2 separate regions of the Homo sapiens genome follow, and region 1 is linked to region 2. Evidence: promoter capture Hi-C in 16 types of primary human blood cells and fetal thymus (Javierre and others, 2016). All regions are on one chromosome and are shown on one strand. The core of a region is centred on a gene start or on the middle of the fragment in contact, and the rest is flanking DNA. Distances in the headings are between cores, read along the strand shown. Region 1 overlaps BPIFB1 (BPI fold containing family B member 1). Region 2 holds the start of SUN5 (Sad1 and UNC84 domain containing 5).

Region 1 (6,694 bases), core at 2,913-5,412, 290 kb after region 2:
GCTGGGCGCGGTGGCTCACGCCTGTAATCCCAGCACTTTGGGAGGCCGAGGTGGGCAGATCACGAGGTCAGGAGATCGAGACCATCCTGGCTAACACGGTGAAACCCCGTCTCTACTAAAAATACAAAAAAAAAAATTAGCCTGGCGCGGTGGTGGGTGTCTGTAGTCCCAACTACTCAGGAGGCTGAGGCAGGAGAATGGTGTGAACTCAGGAGGTGGAGCTTGCAGTGAGCCGAGATGGCACCACTGCACTCCAGCCTGGGTGACAGAGCGAGACTCTGTCTCAAAAAAAAAAAAAAAGAAAGAAAATAGCTAATACATTCCAAGTGCTTACCATGTGAAAGACACCGTGCTAAATGCTTTCCAGATATTAACTCACTTAATCCCTCAACTCTGGGAAGCTGGGGTCATTATCCCCATTTGTCTGATAAGAAAACTGAGGCACAAAGAGGTTACGTTGATTGCCTAAGGCTACACAGCTAGCCCAGGCAGTTAAACACTGCACTCAACAGCCTCTCCTGGACACCGTGCCCCAGGTCACCGGGCATCATGGGCCTGCCCTTGGCCCCTCTGCCTCAGGTCCCTCTGTGCTCACCCCAGGTCTGGCATCCTGCACTTGCTGCCCTCTGACACCTGGGAAGATGGCCGGCCCGTGGACCTTCACCCTTCTCTGTGGTTTGCTGGCAGCCACCTTGATCCAAGCCACCCTCAGTCCCACTGCAGTTCTCATCCTCGGCCCAAAAGTCATCAAAGAAAGTAAGTTTTGTCCCTCCGGAGCTGGCTGCCATAAGACAAGGGGGTAGGTGGAGCAGCTTCCCAAAGGAGGGAGAGAGTTCCTCATCACGGGGGATGTGCATGGCTGAGATCCCAGAACGTGGGTGAACATGAGTGGGAGGTTGTAAAGGTCTGGAGAGTCTGTGATCTCAAGAGTCCACGATTCCAAGAACCCCTTCTTAAATTCCACAGTTCCAAAGACCCTGAGTTTCCACAGCCTGCAGAAGGGGCATGCAGCCACTGCATGCAGTGATGCAGCTGCCTCTCCCACTGCCTTCACCTGAAATCCCATCGTCAGAGCACCCCGTCTTAGTTAGACCCAGTGTGCTCCTCCTCCCCAGAGCAGAGACCCTTGACTGCAAGTGTGGCAGCCTGGGTCCCAGGCACAGTGTATCACTTTCCAGCTCTGGGGCACTGGGCCAGTCCCTGAGCCTCAGCTTCCACCTTGGGACACAAATAAGAGGGCCTTCCTCACTGGGTGGTTGGAATTGACTAGAGCTTTATGAATGCTATGACCATGGTTTCAACCTCAGCACTTCTGATGTTGTGGACCAAACAACTATTTATTATGGGGGGTGTCCTGGGCACTTTAGGATGTTTAACAGCATCCCTAACCCAACTGTGACAACCAAAAAGGTCTCCAGACATTGACAAATATCTCTTAGGGGACAAAATCATCTCAGTGGAGAACGACTACTCTAAAGTCTCATCCCCTTAGAGGGGACTCACCTGTCAGCTCTGGAGGCCACTTGAGCACTTAGAGGACCAGACCTCTGCATTCAGGGGGACTAGGGGCCTGGGTCATGGCCAGAGGGGCAGGGGCAGGTCCTGTGGGACCAACAGGCTCTGTAGCCAGCGGATGGATTCCCAAGTAAGGACGGGAAGCAGAGGGCTCTGAGAGGTTGGAGGGAGGCAGAGGTGGCCTGGATCCACACTGTGAAGCTCAAGCATGTGGAATTTCAGCCAGAAGGAGCTTAGAGATGAACAACCATGCTTTAGGCTCTCCTATAAGGAGTTGTGTACAAGTGGTTGGTTTTGAAGGTGACCCCAGAAACACCTACAGGAGTGTGGGGAGGCAAGGCAGGGAAGGAAAGGCATCCCATGAGGGGTGCATGTCCAAGCCAGTTACCACTGTGGCGACTGAAGCTCAGTCCTGCCTAGCAACTGCATCTATTAGGGCCATTCAGGAGACAGAAACCACACAGTAAATGCCAACAGGTAAGTTTAATGTAAAGAAGTATTACCAGGGGATTGGAAGAATGAGGAATTGGCTAAGAGGGAAAACAGACAGAGCTCTAAAGGATAACCTAGGGATGGAGGGGGTAGCCAAGGACAGAGCAAGTTCAGAGGTAGAGAATCCTCCCCAGCCCTCTTTGTAGAGGGTGTGGTTGAAGCCCACTGTGTGGTGGAGAAGTTTGCTGGCTTGTCCCAGGCCAGAGCTGGTCCACAGTTGGCAATCTGACGCTAGTGGGTGGAGAACTACCTGCCAGGGGGCCAATAAAATTCTCTGGGAAGCTGCCCCTGGAGGAAGGGGGCTGCTGTTAACTCACGGGGAAGCTGTCTCTGGGGAACTGCCTAGAAGCTAGCCAGGGTGCCTGCAGAACTCACTCAGCAAAAGCCACTGGGCAGTGACACCATAGGAACCTGGAAAGAGAAGCACACCAGAGCCATGAAGGGAATCCCCCCCATGCCCCTCCAGAGTCTCCACTGAAAGGGCTTAACACTGTGCCAAATGGCAAAAAAGAAATATTCACTGGGCCCAGTTCCATTACCACAGAGCAGGCAAAGTGGGTGGATTTGCAGCTGAGAGGCTATAACCCAGGAGCTCTGATACACAATGAGGGACACACATCTGAGCCATCCTGCCTGAGGGGTGAGGGAGCTGGGATATTGATACACCAACTCTCACCAATCACTGGCTGAAGTCTGCTCCTGGGGCATCAGCTCTCCAGCACTTCTGACCTGCTCTGCACATGAGCCAGATGGGCTCTAGCTGCTCACAAAAAGCCAGCTGGGACAAGAACCCAGGGCTCTTGACACTTATGCCTCTGTCCTGGCTCCTTCTTCCTCTGCTCAGCACTTGAGGCTTTTTGGACAACACATCCATAGGATATGGATGCCAGACAATTGTTAACAAGTGTGCTTTGGCAGCAAAACAGCCCCAAACAGAGTTTTGAGGGTTCCCTGCCTGTTGGCCCTAGAAATGCTTGCAACTGGCTCAGGGGATGAGTGCAGGTCCAGGTGCTGAGTGCAGTGGCCGACACTCCCCACAGAGGCTGGCAATGCTCAGGGGTGTGAATGGTCCCAGCCTCGCTCCTGATGTGAAAACGACCCATCTGGGCTACTGTCCTCAAGGCTACATCTACACAGTGGGGACTGGCAGGCTGGTCCTGACCTCCACCACAGTAGAGATGGCTACACCCTCGCCTTACCTCAGGGAGCCTCGAGTGATACCCCTCCCCAGCCTGGAGCTCCCACCAAGCCTTCCTTCTTGCCCCTCCTCCTGGGCCCTAATCCCTGGGGTCTGCCTCCAGAGCTGACACAGGAGCTGAAGGACCACAACGCCACCAGCATCCTGCAGCAGCTGCCGCTGCTCAGTGCCATGCGGGAAAAGCCAGCCGGAGGCATCCCTGTGCTGGGCAGCCTGGTGAACACCGTCCTGAAGCACATCATCTGGTGAGTGGAGCAGGACCACACCAGGAGCTAGCCCCTTCCCACACCTTTGCCCGGGACACGCTCTGCATGCTCAGTCAACCAGTCTGCAAGCATCGACTTGTGTCAGATCACAAAGAGTGGATCAAACAAAGCCCCTCCGTCAAGAAGCTCCCAGAATAGTTAACAAGAACCATAAGACAGTGACACAGGAACCCTAATACAACAACCCCAGAGCAAGGCCAGGGACGGTGGCTCAAGCCTGTAATCCCAGCACTTTGGGAGGCCAAGGTGGGTGGATCACCTGAGGTTAGGAGTTCGAGACCAGCCTGGCCAACATGGCAAAACCCCATCTCTACTAAAAATATAAAAATTAGCCAGGCATGGTGGCAGAAGCCTGTAATCCCAGCTACTCAGGAGGCTGAGGCAGGAGAATCGCTTGAACCTGGGAAGTGGAAGTTGCAGTGAGCTGAGATGGTGCCATTGCACTCCAGCCTGGGTGACAAGAGTGAGATTCTGTCTCAAAAAAAAAAAAACAAAAAAAAAAAAACAACCCAGAGCAAGGTTGTCTGGGGTGGCACAGGGAAGGGATGAGGTGATGCTTCTCACTGGAGGTGACAGTGGAGCCGATGACTCAATGCTCACCAGGAGACAAGAAGCAAATGGCATCCAGGTAGAAGAATCAGGCTGGGCAAAGGCATGGAGAAGTGACAGTCGGTCAGAATGGCTAGAGCTCAAACCTCAAGGCAAGGAGTAAGGGATCAGCAGGGTCAGGTCACAGAGGGTCTTATGAGTCAGCTCAAGGAGCTGGGAGTCACCACCTAGAAGAGAAGGCACCATAATAGCATTGTGAGCAGGAGTGGAGGGGAGGGATGGAGGCAAGACCATCTGGAGAGGAGTCGGTGGGCAGGGCCAGGGTCCCGCTGCTGCCTAGGCACCCCAGGGAGATGGAAAAGATAGAGAGGGAGTGGATTTGGGAATAATGAGCCGGAGGCATGATTCTGATCTCTCCTAAACCCCATCCAGGCTGAAGGTCATCACAGCTAACATCCTCCAGCTGCAGGTGAAGCCCTCGGCCAATGACCAGGAGCTGCTAGTCAAGATCCCCCTGGACATGGTGGCTGGATTCAACACGTGAGTGACCCCTCCATCAAGTACAGTAGGCTTGACAGGCTCATCTGCTCGTTCCCCCTCCCCCGCCCCCACCATGCAGGTGTCTGGAAAAGAGAGTTCCGAGCAGAGAGAAGAGCAAGTGCAGAGGCCCTGTGGCAGCAGTGTACTTGCCTTGCTCAAAGAATGGCAAAGACAGGGGAAAGAGAGAGGGGGCATGGTAGGAGATGAGGCCAGCAGGCAGCCGAGGCCAGATCATACAAGGCCTCTTGGGAGAAGATAAGGACTTGGCTTTTGCTGAGTAGGACGGGAGCCAGGGAGGATTCTGAGCAGAGGAGGGATATGCTGTGCTTTCACATTTTTAAAGACTCCTGGCTGCTGTGGGGAAAAAAGACTTTCTGGGGGTAAGAGTGGAGACAGGAAGGCTATCCCAAAGCTACTGCAACAATTCAGGAGGAGATAATGATGGCTTAGACCAGGGTTTGGGGCAGGGAGGTGCTGAGAAGTTGATTGGATTCTGGATATGTTTTGGAGGTAGGTGGGGACACCAGGATATCCCGGGGAACTGAATATGCATGTGTATTCAGGGGGAAAGAGAGAGAAGTCAACGATGACTCCAAGAGTTCTGCCTGCACCACTGGCAGGATGGAGTGGTCAGTAACCAAGACAGGCAAGGCCATGAGAGGAGCAGGTCTGGGGAAGAGCCAGTCCAGTGTTGCATGCGCTAAACTTGAGAAGCCCGTGAGACATCGGAGTAGGGGGCTGGGGGTAAGTTTGGAAGCTGTCAGCAGACGAAAGACGTTTCAACCAAAGAGGAGTCTGAAAACTGAGCCTGGGACATGCTGGGGTGAAGTTGGGTGAAGATGAGGAGAAACCAGCAAAGGAGACTGAGGAAGGAGGTGAGGGCTGGAAGACAGAGACGGACGGCAGGGTTGCTCCAGCCCGAGCTTGCCTGGTGCTCACATGGTCAGGTGCCTCCACCCGCTAGGCCCCTGGTCAAGACCATCGTGGAGTTCCACATGACGACTGAGGCCCAAGCCACCATCCGCATGGACACCAGTGCAAGTGGCCCCACCCGCCTGGTCCTCAGTGACTGTGCCACCAGCCATGGGAGCCTGCGCATCCAACTGCTGCATAAGTGAGTGTCGCTGGCCACCAGCCGGGCTCCCATCCTGCCTGGAAGGAACGCCAGGCAGTGGACTTCCCCCATTTTACAAATGGAGAACGCTGAGGCCTAGAGAAAGAAAGGGACTTATCCCCTCCTGATTCCTGATCTGGGGCTCCTTCCAGGGAATCTGTGATGCCAAGGGAAGTTCAGGACATCAAGGTCAGAAGCAACCATGGTGGGTTTCAGGCATGACACCGGGAGGTGGGGCAAATCTTTGAAGGGGGAGGCCTAGAAACTCCTCCAAACACCAGGGCAGGTGTAGGTGGAGCCAGGGGCAAAAACATAGGCTTTGGGTCAGGCCAACACATTCTCTTCATTTGCTCTCCGGGTGATGATGGCCAAGTGGCCACCCTGTGTCTCACTTTCCTCACCCGTAAAGTGCAGGTAATGACACCTTCCAGGCAGTGGTGAGAAAACTGATCAGACAACAGCCATCAAGCACTCAGAACAGTGCACGCGCATGGTGGTGCCAAAAAACATGGCGCCCCCCCTTCCCTTCTTAGCAGGAGGACAGGGAGAAATGCCAGCTCCCATCATCCCAATGCCCAGCATAAAGTTCCAATGACAACACCCAGCCGCTGCTTTCTGATAACTCTTTGCCACTGCCTACACCTGGCTCAGGGGCTACTCCCAGCCCCGTCTCTAACACGTCCTGTGACCTTGGGCAGGTTCCTTCCTCCCTTAGACTCAGCCTCCCCCTCTGTAAAATAGAGGAAGGGGTGATCATCTCTGACCCTTCCTAATGTCTCTCGTGCTCTCTTCCCTGAAAGGCTCTCCTTCCTGGTGAACGCCTTAGCTAAGCAGGTCATGAACCTCCTAGTGCCATCCCTGCCCAATCTAGTGAAAAACCAGGTGAGTGGAATCAGGGCCTCTCTGGCCTGTGGGCATTGCGCCCCCTGTGGGGCTTGGGTGGAACTGCAAGTTGGTGCTAAGTGACTGGAGTCTCCTTGGGTGGGTTTTGCTGAAAGAATTATCTGGGGCTGGATAGCA
Region 2 (6,346 bases), core at 161-2,660:
AGGTTTCCCAACACCACCAGCCTGTGATTCAGGGACAGACCCAGGTCTGGCTGACCCCAAATCCAGGTATCCATCAAGGAAAAGACCCAGGTTGCTGTGGCAGTCACAGGCGGTTGTCGCCATGTCCCCGAGGTTGGCAGAAGCTTGGTTTTGTTCCTTTGTCTGCTCCTACCCAATGTGATTTTAGGCCATTTTGATTGGTCGAAGCCTGCTGTCGTGCTCCCATTCCCTGTGCTGTGATTGGTTCAAGGGTGAGGAAGTCTGCAGGGGTGAGGTAGGGTGAGGTAGGGGGGTGGTTACGAGGTAAGGGACTTGGGGGAAAAGTTAGGTTTAGGATTAGCTAAATGAGACCCACAGAAAACGATGCTTATTCTCCTTCCCCTAGACGCCACATTTCTGCGTGACACCTGAAACTGTGGTGGCCATCTTGTGACCATGAGAGGGGGCTAAAAGAGCAGAATGATGACAGGAACCTGGGTCTTGGGTGGCAGAACTGAGGAATTAACACACTCCGGAGCCCCCTGCACCTTGGGACCTCTTGATATGTGAGATTTAAAATTTTCCCTTATTTCTTAAGTCAAAGGTCTTTAAACATTTTTGTTTATACCACCTCAGAGTATTTATATTGGTTTATTAATAAATTATATATACACCCAATTGTACTAATACATTGTTTACCCTTCCCAAATGTACAGATTTATGGTAACATTCCTGAATAATATAAATTAAAAGAGGATGAAAGACATACATTCTAGCCTGGTTATTTCTTTTCTCACCCTTGGGGATTGTTTGGTATACTCTCTTGGGATATACACCCAGATTTGGGTGCCCAGAGATAGGCATCATTTTAAGTTGGAATTTCTGTCACCTGCATTCAGAGGCTTTCTGACAGATAAAGATGGCGAAATACTTGTTTCCTTCTTTCATACCAGTCTCCTGCACTAGACCGTGAGCTCCATGAGGGAACGGAGCACATCAGACTGGTGCCACACCGTGTTCCCCGTCCTCTGTGCATTTCCCGGCACACAGTAGATGCTCAATAAATGCGTGCTGGAAGGATGGCTGCTTCACCACTTCCTGGCTGGGAGACTTTGGGAATACCACTGCCAAACCTCTCTGGTCTTGGTGGCTGTCTCTGTACAGTACAGTTGACAATGCCACTCATCTCCAAGGACAGGGTGGAGGGGCAGCATTTTGTAAACTGTAAAGGGCTGGGCAAAGGGAGGGGCTGCCATCCTCACCTCCGGGGTCTGGGATTGTGGGCCACATCTTCGAGTAGGGCGCCTGGGTCCCCAGGGCTCCTTGAGGACCGTGGCATCGATTTCCTTCTTTAGGATTGGGGATGGAGATGGGAACTCTGGGAGCTGGTGAGGAGGAAGGGGCTGATGCCTCTGAATGTCCCCTGAAAAGTGCCAAGTGGAATCTGCCAGGATCAGTGGAGCAGTTGGCATTGTGACCTCACAGAGCAGGTGGGTGGAGGGGCAGGGGATGGGGCTAGTCTCCAGCTTGGCCCTAGAACCTCCCCCAGAGGAAGCCATTGTGACCCACTTTCCTTTCTTAAGATGGGGAAATTGAGGCATCAAGACAGGAAGGGCCATGCTGGGGTCTCAGAAGCTGGACAGGGGCGAGAGCTGAAGCTCCAGTAACCCAACCATGCTTTTCCTTGTTTCCTAGATCCCTTCCTGCCCCAAGCTTCCCAGGCTTTTCACCTTCTTAGGTTGCACCTGAATGCATTTTGTAATGCTGAGCTTCTCACTGGTGGACATTGTGCATAACACAAAATAACATTGCATGTGTTGTTGCTTTAATAAAGTTCTACTTTTTGTTGGGCCCGGTGGTTGATGCCTGTAATCCTAGTACTTTGAGAGGCAGAAGCGGGTGGATTGCCTGAGCTCAGGAGTTTGAGACCTGTCTGGGCAACATGGCAAAACCCCTTCTCTACTAAAAATACAAAAAATTGGCTGGGTGTGGTGGTGTGTGCCTGTAATCCCAGCTACTCGGGAGGCCGAGGCTTGAGAATTGCTTGACTCGGGAGGCGGCAGAGGTTGCCGTGAGCAGAAATCGCGCCATTGCACCCAGCCTGGGCAACAGAGTGAGACTCTATGTCCAAAAATAAAGTTCTACTTTTTTACTGGGGAAAATAAAAGCATAACCGAGTGGAAATGTCGGGCTAAGTTTTTTCTGTTCACCCTGCCTGTAGGGAGCTTGACTATTTGGATAGCAAAGCTAAAATGAATTCACTTTTGCCCCCTGGTGGCAGTTGCTTAAAATTGCAGGCTAATTACCAATGGGAAGTGGTACGATGGTCCCTCAAAGAGGCCCACACACTAAAACCTGAACATGTAAATATGTTAAGTCACAAGGCAAAAGGGAGTTAAAACTAGAAGAGCAATTTAAGTTGCTAATCAGTCGATCTTGAGATGGGAAGAATACCCTAGATTACCCATGTGGGTGCAATGTAATGACAAGGGTCCTTAAAAATGGAAGAGGGAGGCAGGGAGATGGCAGCACAAGAAGCACTCAGCCCAACATGCTGGCTTTGAAGATGGAGGAAGGGACCAGGAGCCAAGGAATAAGGGCAGCTTCTAGAAGCTGGAAAAGGCAGGTGGACAATTCCTCTCCTACAGCCTCCAGCAAGGAACACAGCCCTGCCAATACTTCCTTGATTTTAGCCCAGGGAGACCCATCTGGGACTTCAGACCTCCAGAATGGTAACATGATAAATTGTGTCTTAAGTCACTAAGTTTGTGATAATACATTATTGCAGCAACAGGACACCAATGCAAAACCCCTGAGAATATTCAGTGAAGGGGAAACTCTGAAATGCCACCACTACAATTGTTACAAGGGTCTTTCAAATGTATACTCATTCATTTATTCATTCAACAAATATTTATGCACCTAGTATGGTCCAGGTGCTGGAAACAGGGCTGAGCAGAACCAGCTCCCATCCCTGCGGATGCAGGCAAAGTGGCTGGCAGAACATTCTGCATATAGCAGGTGCTCACCAAACGGTGCTTGCCATTGCTGTCAGGAGCCGGTTGAGATCTGGGATGGGCTGGTGAGAATCTCCCTCTTTTATGTCTACTGGCTGTCACCCAAATGGCTCTTGTGCTGGAAATATTTAAGAAAAGGAAGTGTCCAGGCCAACAGCAAACACCAAGAGTGGGTTTGGTCAATATTTGCGCCTCTGTCCACTGAGTCTGCTGTTTGCATCAGCTATGGTGAGGGCGCAGGAGGGGCCGGTCTTGGGCATTGGTGGACAGACCAAGGCCAGGAGCAGGGTGTCAGGGAGCTCACAGCAGGCTCTTCTCATTCCTCTTTGCGTCTAGAATAGGGGCAAGGGAGCACTGGTTGGGAGGCAGGGCTGGTTCAAGTGAGCTCCAGCTGCTCAGGGGAGGGCTTGATGGTGTCTGTGGTCAGCTTTGTAGACACTGGTGGAGGCCTAGCACAGGGTGGGCCTGGGAGCTGGGCCTGATATTTGGGCTGGTGTGGGGTCAGTGGGAGTCAAAGAGTGCCCTGGAGTTGGGGAAAGGCCCCAAGTCATCCTGTGCCAATGAAGAAAAATGGAAAGGCCATCGCCTGCTGTGCACACATATATGCACACACACAAGAACATATATACATGTACCTCCCCATCCCAGGAAACAGTCCACTTGCATACACACATGCACCTAACACCACACACTCACAGACCCACAAACACTCAGTAGGCCAAGCCCACACATGCATACATGTACACAAAACTCCCCACCTCTGTGGTCCTGTTGGATTGTGTGAATAGACACACAACACCATAAACCAAGATGCCAACGTGCCCATTTCATGTCCACACTCACACATAAGAGCACACATTTTCCCCGTACATGTGACTATGCACACACACTCACATGCATGTATCAACACAACCCTCATCCACACATGTGCATATGCAAATTCCTTCATGCGCACACACAGTTCCTTGGGTCCCATCCAGCCAAGGCGGAGGCTGACGTTTGTAATGTGGAAAGAGACCGTGGACTAATCCATTGTGAGTGGAATGTGCATTTGGAGAGAGGCTGGGATGTTAAGCTGTGGGGACAGGTCACGCACACTTTCTCTTCTGTTCCCTTCTGAGTTAGGGCTCAGTTTGTGACTGGGATCAGGGCTCAGCATGTGATCAGGGTCAGAGCTCAGTAACTGGGGTCAGGACTCAGTGTGTGAATATGTGACAGGGTCAGGGCTCAGTCAATGACTGAGGATGGTGCTCAGGTAGCCTTCTGCCCCTCCTAAAAGGGTCATGTTTCCGAGAGAGCTTGGAGGTACCAGGCTTGAGGGGTCATTGCAGCCATCCCCTTGCCTATGGGAGGGGGGATGGGGTCCTCATGGGCCCCATCCTCCCAGGCCTTGGCTGGGCATGATAAGATACCCTCCTAGAAGCAGCTTTCCTTCCAGAGATCTCCTGGCCCTCACTAAGGCCATAGCTGCCTAGCCCCAGGGGCTTGTAGTGGTTGGGAGCTGGGCCTGGCTACTGGCTACGTGGCAGCCCCAGCGCACATGTGGGATGAGACACTTTGGCAAAGGCCATGTTTGCAGGGAAAACACTTGCAACCACAAGCAAACTCGCCGCTCCCTGGGTCCCTTCCCAGTGGACTCTGCACATTGGGAGCCTTATAAAGTAGCCTCTGCATCTGCCTGCCTCGGGCAGAGGAGGGCTACCCTGGGGCTGAGAGTTCACCTGTCTCAGGAACCACCTGAGGTAGGCATGGGGCTGGGCTGGTACACCACTTCCAAGGAGGCTTGGCTTCTCTATCTGTTCAGTGGGGATGCTACCTCCAGCCACCCTCTGCAGAAGGGTCCTTCCACCCCTGGCCTTGCTGTAGGACCTGGGCAAGTGCCGCCATCCTGGGTCTCAGCAGACCCACCTGAGCCGCAGTCCCTCACTCCTGCCTGGCTCCCTCTCCCTGAGTCAGACACAGATCTGCCTATTTGGCCAGACTGAGTCAGGAGAGGATGGGGGCCATGTGAGAGGCCTACTCTTAGGCCATTTACCACCTGGCCAGGAGGGGATGAGGACAGGAGCCACCCTGGGTCCTCCCCTGGCTGAATTTGGTGGACAGCTGGACACCAAGCTGGCTGTCACACGGGGCTGGACTCCGGCATCAGGTGATACAGTCCTGGGCATCTTCTTGGGACAGGAAACTACCCTCAGTCTCCCCGTTTGGGAGTCTCACCATCCTTCTATGCCATGGCTTGGGTCCTGCACCTGGTCCCAGTCCACTGTGTGGCCCTAGGCAAGACCATTTCTTCTCTGGGCATTGCGGGTCATTTCCAGAAGGGACTCCCCCATGATTCCTGATGAAGCAAGCAAGGCAAGGTGATGGTTCCCAATGCAGAGATGCAAAAACTGATGTCTGTGGGCCTGGGGCAGGGCTGGGATCACCAGTCAGGGCTTGTTCCCTCCAGGCTGGAGTGGGGTTCGGGTGGCTCAGGGGTGGGCTGTTTTGGCTGAGCTCCCTGATGCTCATTTCTACCCCAGCCCACAGATCCTGTGGGCAGCGGCCAGGGCAGCCATGGCTTGGGCAAGTAGGCTGGGCCTGCTGCTGGCACTGCTGCTGCCCGTGGTCGGTGCCTCCACGCCAGGCACCGTGGTCCGACTCAACAAGGCAGCATTGAGCTACGGTAAGCGGTGTGTTACCCAGTGAGTGTCTGTGAGCCTGTACATGCGTGTGCAATCCTAAGTGTGTGTGCGTAGCTGTGAACTCAAAAGGCCCATGAGGACCCAGATTTTAATTGGAAGTTGTGTCCCTGGCACCCAGACAGTGCCTGACACATGGCGCTGCTCAACAAATGCTTATTACATAAATGCGTGAGGGGGGAGTACGTCATGTGGCCAGTGTGCAAGTGTGCACATGTGACTTGCTCACATGCTTTGGTGATGTGGGCATAGGTCGGTTTGAGGGGCTATTTTTACCTGTGTGTGTCTACTTATGAGTTTGAAATTTCATAGAGCTGTGCCCACGTGTGTACTTAAGTGTCGGGGAGGGTGCAAGCCCATGATGCTGCCTGGATGTGTGTGCACAGGTACGGCTGTTCACCCTGGGTGTACACGTTTGCGTATGTGGTGTGTGCACGCACGTGTGTTCTTGGGAGAGGTCTGTCTAGCACCGTGATGCAAGGAGTGTTCTAAAGTTATATCCCTTCTGAGCTCAGCGTGAGAGAACCATCCGCTCTCTGGGTCCCACTTGTGCGAGGGCTCTGTCTTACGGCTGTGCTGCTAGATCCTTCCAAGTCTTGCCCCAATCCCCTAAGGAGGGCACAATGAAGAAACTTAGCCCCAGGGAGGGACAGACATTGCCAAGGTCCA

Evidence for each region. The method cuts DNA at HindIII sites, captures the fragments that hold promoters and counts their contacts. A CHiCAGO score of 5 or more calls a contact.
Region 1: a fragment that was not itself captured here is called in contact with the fragment with the promoter of SUN5 in region 2 in 5 of 17 cell types (M1 macrophages, M0 macrophages, endothelial precursors and 2 more); the score reaches 8.8 in M1 macrophages.

The regions. Positions count from the first base shown.
Region 1 is chr20:33,285,433-33,292,126 of GRCh38, forward strand. BPIFB1 (BPI fold containing family B member 1) reads left to right here. Exons shown (of 16, transcript NM_033197.3): 2 at 601-756; 3 at 3,309-3,450; 4 at 4,453-4,560; 5 at 5,525-5,674; 6 at 6,475-6,556. The coding sequence starts at 642. Among named protein-coding and RNA genes, the nearest start is that of BPIFB1, 5.6 kb to the left of the region's middle. RefSeq lists enhancers at 4,188-5,148, 5,149-6,109, 6,576-6,625. The HindIII fragment of the contact is 8,984 bases long and covers 1-6,694 here.
Region 2 is chr20:33,003,023-33,009,368 of GRCh38, forward strand. It overlaps SUN5 (Sad1 and UNC84 domain containing 5), which reads right to left and starts at 1,411. Exons shown (of 13, transcript NM_080675.4): 1 at 1,242-1,411. The coding sequence starts at 1,318. BPIFB2 (BPI fold containing family B member 2) reads left to right here and starts at 4,682. Exons shown (of 16, transcript NM_025227.3): 1 at 4,682-4,738; 2 at 5,519-5,661. The coding sequence starts at 5,553. RefSeq lists enhancers at 4,067-5,062, 5,063-6,057. The HindIII fragment of the contact is 1,549 bases long and covers 142-1,690 here.